2 separate regions of the Homo sapiens genome follow, and region 1 is linked to region 2. The links are contacts of gene promoters, found by promoter capture Hi-C in human tissues and cell types (Jung and others, 2019). All regions are on one chromosome and are shown on one strand. The core of a region is centred on a gene start or on the middle of the fragment in contact, and the rest is flanking DNA. Distances in the headings are between cores, read along the strand shown.

Region 1 (4,476 bases), core at 817-3,316, 870 kb before region 2:
CCCCTGCAGGCTTGGTCCCCCATGTATTCTCCACACCTGGCTATGTGAAATTTGAATGGACATTTCAATGGAGAAATCCACTGCTGTCCCCAAAGTGCCCAAAAGTGCCAATTAACCCATAGTGGCTTTTAAACCCACAGCCACTAAAATCTCGCTGGGGCAAGGACTGTGCCAATGAATTTGCAGCTAGCTGTAGGTACGGAGGTACCAGCGAATTTCACTGGCACCAGTGCCCTTCTCTGCCTTATATTTCAACAGCAGCTCAGTCTGGAAGCTTTTATTCACTCAACTGTGGTGCTATTTTTATATCTCTGTCAAATCTCTTCCTGATCCCTCTCTTTTGAAAAGGGTCCTTATAAATTCTATCGTAATGGCAGGAATGCAAGAAACTGCAAGGGTGGGCAGAGACTAGGGGACACGTGGTCCTACAGCTGTTACCATCTTGGCATAAGAAAGCAGGTGAAGTTTTAAAAAAAGACGGCCACACTGCCATGCCTCTGTCACCAAAGACAGACCTCACATGTCTGTCTCATGTGTGTTTAAGTGTCTTAACAAGACTGCTCATGTCTTTCACCCTAATCAATACGCAAGTAATTTTTAAAAATAAAACTAAGTCTATTTTTAACCATATTCTGTGACTCTTGGAACATTAGCCAACTAGAATGTCCCATTTATTTATTCACGGGGTCAATGTGCTTAGGAGTTTGCAGCCAACTTATTTGTGTATATGATGGAAAAGACTGCAGATACTAAACAAGCAATGCCACGGAGTGTGACACATGTCCTCACTGGAGAAACACCAAGGGCTGGAGGAGCCCGAAAAAGGGATCTTAACTCAGATTTGCTGAATAAAATAACACTGTGTGGAAGAAAGTTCGTCTCAACTGAAACCTGAAGGATAAATGAAGAGCCAGATATAGAGGCAAAAGTGTGTCCCAGGCACGTGTTCCAGAATACACAAAGATCCAGGGAGCAACGACAGTGCAGTGAAGAAAATCTGGTGTCATTTTTATCTGGTAGCAAGGGACATAATAGTGAGGAATTGGGCTATCAAGGCAACCAGGACCAAGTTATGAAGATTTTTGATAACAACTTCTAATCACCTTTACAGTTCACTCCAATTCTGAATCTGGAACCTGAAGAGTCACCCCATGTCCTTTATTTCTGATAAATGGGGGGCTTGGCTACGTATGAACATTTGGGAGCCCCATCACCTAGAATATAAAGTTCATACTCCTAAGTTTTTAATTAAATGGCTCCAACTCACCCTGTTTGTGAGCCAAGGCAGGGTCATCTCACCCCATCGCAATGCTCCAGCACCCCTTGATACTGACACCATCAGACCAAATTTCTCTGGGTTTCCTAATATTTCACTCTCCTTTCCTAACACTACATTTCTGCCCATGCCACCCACTCTACCAAGAATTGCCTCTAGTCATATTTGCACTCACATTTGGCTAGCACCTGCCAATCTTTCAAGATTCAATCCAATGCCACCTCCTCCAGAAAGTGCCTTAAATTCTGTCCGCAAGAATTGAACATTCCTTCATCTGCATTTGCACAGCACTATCAACTTTCTTCCCTAGACTTTTGTTCATAGGGTTGTATTTCAAGCTCTCAATTTCATCACACAGGGTCTTCTCACACATATTAATACTTAGGTAAATGCAAAGTACTTCTTTAATATCAAGAAATGACAGTTTGTGCCAGTATGGTGACCTGTAATCCCAGCTACTTGGGAGGCTGAGACAGGAGAATCATGAGATCTCATCAAAAAAAAAAAAAAAAAAAAAGACAATTCATTGACTACTCATTTCATATACTGTATAGGACAAGTCATAATTGCAATGTATAATCATGTTATGTACATTCATGGTGACTTGTATGTATGGTCTATATCCTCAAAGAGATTCTAACTTCCTTCAAAAAGAAAACATACTTGTCTTATTCATTTTTATATTCTTAGGGTTTAATTCCAGGGCATGGGACACACTTCCAGGGCAAGTGTGCTCATGAATATTGTTGAAAAAATAAATGAGAAAAACAATGTAAATAGACCCTTCCACCCCTCCCTCCCATGCAGGCAGGCAGAAAACCTTTAATCCTCTTTAATTTCCTGTTAAGGATTAAACAATACAAACCAATGGAGCCCCTCCTGCCACACCACACACACACACACACACACACACACACACACACACACACACACAAAACAACAACCCTTTCTTAATTCCTTAATCTTCTTTAATTTCCTGCTAGGAATTCCTAGGTCAATGAGGACAGCAGTCAAATGTACAAAATGCCTTTTTGGGATGTTCAAGAAAAATGCAAACTTTTGTGGTGGATTATCAGACTGGAGAAATTCAACAAGACAGAGAGTCACCGGGGTTTTACTCCCAACTTTACCACTGACTGTTGAAAGGCACTCAACATACCAATTAGAAACTGCACATTTGCACAACTCAGTAAATTCATCAATGATTTAAAAAAAAAAAACCTTTTTTCCAATTCACTTTCAACTTTCCAATCTAATGTCCAAATTGCTGCACACACATTCACTAAAAAAACAATGAAAGTTGGGCTGGGTGCGATGGCTCACGCCTGTAATCCCAGCACTCTGGGAGGCCGAGGCGGGTGGATCATGAGGTCAGGAGATCGAAACCATCCTGGCTAACAAGGTGAAACCCCACCTCTACTAAAAATACAAAAAATTAGCCAGGCGCGGTGGGGGGCACCTGTAGTCCCAGCTACTTGGGAGGCTGAGTCAGGAGAATGGCGTGAACCCGGGAGGTGGAGCTTGCAGTGAGCTGAGATGGCGCCACTGCACTCCAGCCTGGGCGACAGAGAGAGACTCCATCTCAATAAATAAATAAATAAATAAATAAATAAATAAATAAATAAAGTTCATTTTCATCATCAACTGCCTTCTACTTTCTTTGTTCTTTTTCTTTTTCTTTTTTTTTTTTTTAACACCCTCCTCACTCTCCATTGGTATGGTATATGCAAAATTAACTGGCCTTGAAGAAAGAAAATGGTTTGGGGGTAAGTTAACAGTCTCCTGCTTGAACAATGTCATACGTGTGGGACCATGTTCACTCCTGCGTGGCTAAACTTGGGACAAAGGAAGGGTGCATCTGTTTCTAATCTGGCTACAGGCCTCAGGAGTTTTAACCTGAAGTTTGTTGGAGAGTAATTCCTGGAATCATCACCGGAGTAGACTTCTAAGAATAGAGACCCTTCTGAAAGCAGCAGCTTAAAGGATCAGTCTGGTGGGGGCCCTGTTCTTTGGCATGATGGAGGAGACCAACTGGAGCTTAATAAACTTTCTCCTAGTTCTGGGAAATTGAAAATCAACTTATGGATTTTGTTTAGCATCTGGTCTAGGTGCCTTTTTTCTTAATTACTTACAGAGACATTAGCAATATACCTACTAGAGGCTTCCTTTTTCTGAGGTCTATTTGTAAACATAAAATGTTAAAGATTTATGGTAATTGTAACATTAAAATCAACCCCCGTGTTTTAAACAGATCTTGTAGCTGCTACAACTTACTCAATTCCAATTGCATTGTGTAAATTGGCCTAATAATGAAGAGCCATACATTTTCATTAGTGCACTTGTCCTGTCTGCTGATGGCTGACATTCTAACTTTTGATAAACAGCAGGATTCTCTAAACTGCTGATTTTGCAGCTCTGACTCTCCATTCAGAAGAAAGAAAATTTGACTTCTGAATCTTGCTGGTAAAAACTCCTCTTCAAAGATGTTTTAAAATTATAGGCATGTTTTTTAAGACCAATCTAAATGGTCACCTCTTGTTATAAGCCATTCTTCTCATTTGCAAAATGTACATAATAATGCATTTAGGTCATTCATTCATTCCTTTATTTTTGTGACAGATATTCGATGATTGTTTCCTATGTACACCTGGTCCTAGATTAGGTATATGAAGATGAAATAACACAAATATTCAGTGCCTGGTATGTAGAATAGTATATTCAGTAAGTGGTAGAGCCTTCTTCCCTTTCTACAGGAGTCTAGATAATGTAGATAAGGATAAATTTTTATGATGGTCAACATTACGAAAAAGGAATTGACATCTCTCATGAGAAAGACTTAGCTTTTGAGAGTAAGAAACATCTTTTGATACCATTCAGCTCTCTCTCTAACTCCTGCTGGGACCCCCCACTGCACTGCTTATGTTTATCTATCTTCAGCAAAAGTAAGCTCAGTCTACAAGGCAGCCTGTTCTGTGAGTAGACTGAGTAGTTAGCTCTTAACATATGCCTTCAAATAATGGCTCACCCTTTACTGGGCTTGTCAGAAGTAAAAAAAAGCAAATGACCTCAATTTTCTATATGGAAGATGGTTGTGTTTACTCCTTTCCTAAGCCCTCTTCTCTCAAAACTCATCACCCACTTTTCTTTAACTGTTTGTTATAAGACGCTGATATAAGTTTTAGCCTCTTCACCCTGTTGTT
Region 2 (4,465 bases), core at 379-2,878:
CCCCCTTTCTCCCCTTTCTCTAGCCCCTCCAATCTGTCTTGTCTACCTTTTCCTGTTTAACCTGTTCTGGTCACAGTCATTGATGACCTCATCTTCCAAATCCAAAGTTAAGTCTCAGCCCTCATGCTCCCCAGGCTGACCCACTGACTACTCCCCTGCCCTCCTCCTCTGCCCTCTCCTGGCATTCCTCCTTCATCATGGGACCCTCTTCTAATGGATCCCCAAATGTCAGAGGGTCCAAGTCCTCCCTCCCTCCAAGCTCATCCATGCCCATGGCCTCAGATGCCAGCCATAAGCTGTTGGGTTCCAAACCTCGACTCCAGGCTGGACTCACCCCTGTCTCCCCCACCAGCCTGACACCTCCACCTGGGTATCTAACGAGCATCTCAAACTCAACCTGCCTGAGACAGAGGAATCACTATCCCCTCCTCCTCCAAAAATATCCTTCCATCACACTCCCCATCTTGTGCTCTGATTTACTAAACGGCCCTGGGCCCTCTCTTTCTCAGGGTCTCTGCTTGCCCAGCTATATAATAAAACAAGTTTGGGACTTCCCAACCATTCACCCATGGAAAAACAGAAGCAACTCTTCAAAGGACAGATTCCCAGGATCTGCCCTGGGAGATTCCAAATCAGTTGATCTGGGGTGAGCCCAGTCCTCTGTAGTTTTTAGAAGCTCCTCCTATGTCTCTCCTGGTCAGCAGAATCTTGGCCCCTCCCTTCCCCCCAGCCTCTTGGTTCTTCTGGGCTCTGATCCAGCCTCAGCGTCACTGTCTTCCACGCCCCTCTTTGATTCTCGTTTATGTCAAAAGCCTTGTGAGGATGAGGCTGTGATTATCCCCATTTTACAGATGAGGAAACTGTGGCTCCAGGATGACACAACTGGCCAGAGGTCACATCAGAAGCAGAGCTGGGTCACTTGACTCCACCCAATATCCCTAAATGCAAACATCCCCTACAGACCGAGGCTGGCACCTTAGAGCTGGAGTCCATGCCCGCTCTGACCAGGAGAAGCCAACCTGGTCCTCCAGAGCCAAGAGCTTCTGTCCCTTTCCCATCTCCTGAAGCCTCCCTGTCACCTTTAAAGTCCATTCCCACAAAGACATCATGGGATCACCACAGAAAATCAAGCTCTGGGGCTAGGCTGACCCCAGCTAGATTTTTGGCTCTTTTATACCCCAGCTGGGTGGACAAGCACCTTAAACCCGCTGAGCCTCAGCTTCCCGGGCTATAAAATGGGGGTGATGACACCTGCCTGTAGCATTCCAAGGAGGGTTAAATGTGATGCTGCAGCCAAGGGTCCCCACAGCCAGGCTCTTTGCAGGTGCTGGGTTCAGAGTCCCAGAGCTGAGGCCGGGAGTAGGGGTTCAAGTGGGGTGCCCCAGGCAGGGTCCAGTGCCAGCCCTCTGTGGAGACAGCCATCCGGGGCCGAGGCAGCCGCCCACCGCAGGGCCTGCCTATCTGCAGCCAGCCCAGCCCTCACAAAGGAACAATAACAGGAAACCATCCCAGGGGGAAGTGGGCCAGGGCCAGCTGGAAAACCTGAAGGGGAGGCAGCCAGGCCTCCCTCGCCAGCGGGGTGTGGCTCCCCTCCAAAGACGGTCGGCTGACAGGCTCCACAGAGCTCCACTCACGCTCAGCCCTGGACGGACAGGCAGTCCAACGGAACAGAAACATCCCTCAGCCCACAGGCACGGTGAGTGGGGGCTCCCACACTCCCCTCCACCCCAAACCCGCCACCCTGCGCCCAAGATGGGAGGGTCCTCAGCTTCCCCATCTGTAGAATGGGCATCGTCCCACTCCCATGACAGAGAGGCTCCTCGAGGGCACGCTGGGCCTCCTCGTGGCTCAGAGCAGGGTCGGGGAAGGTGCACCCAGAGGTAGTGCCAAGGGCACAAATGGGCATCTCGGGGCTGAGGGGGGCAGGGCAAGGGCTTGGCTCTCCCAGAAGTGTATTCTCCAACTCAAAAAGGCCCACTGGCCTTCATCAGTGCCAGGCTCAGAGAGGGCAGTATTCTGCCCCAGTTGCCCAGCATGCCGGGGCAGAGGACTGGCACCCAGGCCTTGGCCTCCCCTCGGTGCCTTACCCTTACTGGAGAGGATTTACCAAGGCCTGACACCAGCCTCCTCAGCCCCCTACCCATACGCCACTAAAGCTCTATGCTGGGATCTGGGGAGGGGCCCTGAAAAGGAAGCTCCGAGCCTTGGCCCCTCTCGGTCAGCCAGTGCCCCCATTTCAGGATAGGCAAGCTGAGGCTTGGCTCTGGGCACTTGAGGTCTTGCCTTTCCCTCTGGGCCTTTCCCTGCCCAAACACCATCGGGGCCCACTATGTGTCAAGGGAGCTGTAGTCTGGACAGCGGTCCACCATTCCTCCCACCAGCACCCTTTCAAAGGCTAGAGCATAAGAGCCCCAAGGCCCCCACAGCCCAGGAAGTCCCCCAGAAGCAGGAGGTCTGGGCCAAGAGCCTGGCCTGGAGACAGCTGCCCTGGGTACAGATCCCAGCTCTCCCATTTGCTCTGGGGTGACCTTGGGAAAGTTACCCAGAGTTTCCAAACCACAGTGGGGAACAAGGGATGGTGTGGGGCTCATTATTTTACCATTAACAACTCCACAAGGTAGATACATTCTTTCTTTATATCTCAGTGAAAGCAACTGAGCTTTGGAAACATATGAGCTGGTGTGGGGATTTGAACCAGGATCTCGTACTCCAAAGCCCCAGCTCTCCCCAGGTCTCAAGTGTCTCATCTGTGAAATGGGGAAACAGTGTTTCCTCAGTCAATTGAGTGAAGTGAGCTACATCCCTGGTGCTGGGAATGGCACATAACATGAGATCTTTAAGGAATAGTGGCTGGATTTACCAGCTAGCACAGAGCCGATCCTGGTTGTGAATGTGATAAAGATTTTGGCCCTTGAGGTATGGTCAAACCCCATCACGGAGGGGTCCTCAGGTGCCCAGCAGGTACGAGGAAGGGGGTGCAAGTGAGAGGACATCGCGAGCACCTCTGGGCCTCTGCTCCATGTCAGGCTCCCTCCCCAGCGTGGACGTTTCTCATGTGTGATGGGCAGATAGGATTCTGACAAGAGAGGAAGGGCATTCCCAGGGAGGCAGCTTTGAGGAGTCGAGGGTGTACCTGGAAGGCTCTTTTGCCACAGGCCACTGGAGCCAGGGCCAGAAGCCCTGGTCCATCCTCAGGTGGTGGGAAGCCTGGGACTCTCCTCTGCCTGCCCTAGAGAGCAGCAGGTATCCACCAAGGGGCCCAAGAGCTGCTGAGCCCCTGAGCAGCCCTACCAATTTCAGCTTATGGTGGTGAGGGGTAGGGGAGGTGTATACTGGCCTGGAAGGGGTTAAGCTGCCCGCCTGCAGCCTCAGCCTGAGCTATTGTGTTGCCAAACAAGGGCCGGACATGAGGGCAGGAAGCCAGCAGGGGCCACACATTTTCTGCAAAGTTGGATGATTCACTGCTGACTTGGGGACACCCAGGGGACAGAGGGGACACCATCCCAGGAAGAATCTTAGGCTCATTTTGCCCACATGGACCCATGACTGTTCCCTGTATCCTCTCTCTGCACCCCCTCAGTCACACTGAAGCAACTATGAGAATTCCCATTTGACAGATGGGACCATCGAGGCTGAGGGAAGCTGTGCAGCCAGTCCAAGGTCACACAACCAACACAAGGTAGAAGCAGGGTGAGTGCGGTTCCTTCTGACCCACAGTCCATGCCACACTCCACAGTGAAGCTCAGAGAGGGGGAAAGCAGAGCAGTCCAGGCCACAGAGGCAGGCACAGGGACAAGCCAGGAGCCCAGTGATACCAGGGGAAGGAATGTTCTAGGAGGCAGGGCCTCAGGAGCTTCACCTCTGGCTGAGGAGATACTAAAAAGTCTGTCCTGATCCAGGTTCAAGCTGGTGTTAAGTGGGTAAATCATGGAGGGCTTGCTGGAGGAAGAGTGGGAATCCCAGATGCTAGGAGGCCTTGGGCAGCCCCTCTGCAGCCTGCACCTCAGTCTTCCCATCTCTTGAGAGTAGGGGATGGTCCCTAAACTAATTCAGGGATTTCCAGGTTGTCTGCCTTGGACCATAGCAAAACAGTCAGATCCTGGCAGGTCCAGATACTAGAAGGAGGAGGAAGTGGGACCCAGGGGCAGGCCGGGCTGGTGGTGAATGAGATTTCCTTCTGCAGAGGAACAGAAAGAGTAGGAGGTGGGCCCAGAGTAGAGCCAGGAAATGAGGTCAAGCGTAAGTTGGCCAGTCAAAGCCACACCCACCAGGCTGGAGAGGGCGGGTAGATAGGAGTCAAGACACCTGCACCCTTACTGAGCACCTACTGTGTGCCAGGCTTTGCACCCATGATCTCATTTAATCCTCCTGCCCAGGGAGGCAGCTATTGTTGCCTCCATTACAGATAAGGAAGCTGAGGCTCAGCAAGCAAGAGATGAACCCAAGGTCACACAGCTCCCGAGCA

The links. The method cuts DNA at HindIII sites, captures the fragments that hold promoters and counts their contacts. A contact is called where the count stands out against the background at its distance.
Region 1: a contact is called between a fragment that was not itself captured here and the fragment with the promoter of CDH5 in region 2, in 2 of the 25 tissues and cell types used here (dorsolateral prefrontal cortex and lymphoblastoid cells).

Annotation. Positions count from the first base shown.
Region 1 is chr16:65,490,072-65,494,547 of GRCh38, forward strand. All of the region lies in intron 2 of LINC00922 (long intergenic non-protein coding RNA 922), which reads right to left. Among named protein-coding and RNA genes, the nearest start is that of LINC00922, 84 kb to the right of the region's middle. The HindIII fragment of the contact is 6,107 bases long and covers 1-4,476 here.
Region 2 is chr16:66,365,063-66,369,527 of GRCh38, forward strand. It overlaps CDH5 (cadherin 5), which reads left to right and starts at 1,629. Exons shown (of 12, transcript NM_001795.5): 1 at 1,629-1,696. The region is part of intron 2 of LOC105371318 (a long non-coding RNA gene); the gene reads right to left. RefSeq lists enhancers at 1,522-2,071, 2,882-3,588 and a silencer at 4,116-4,195. The HindIII fragment of the contact is 33,771 bases long and covers 1-4,465 here.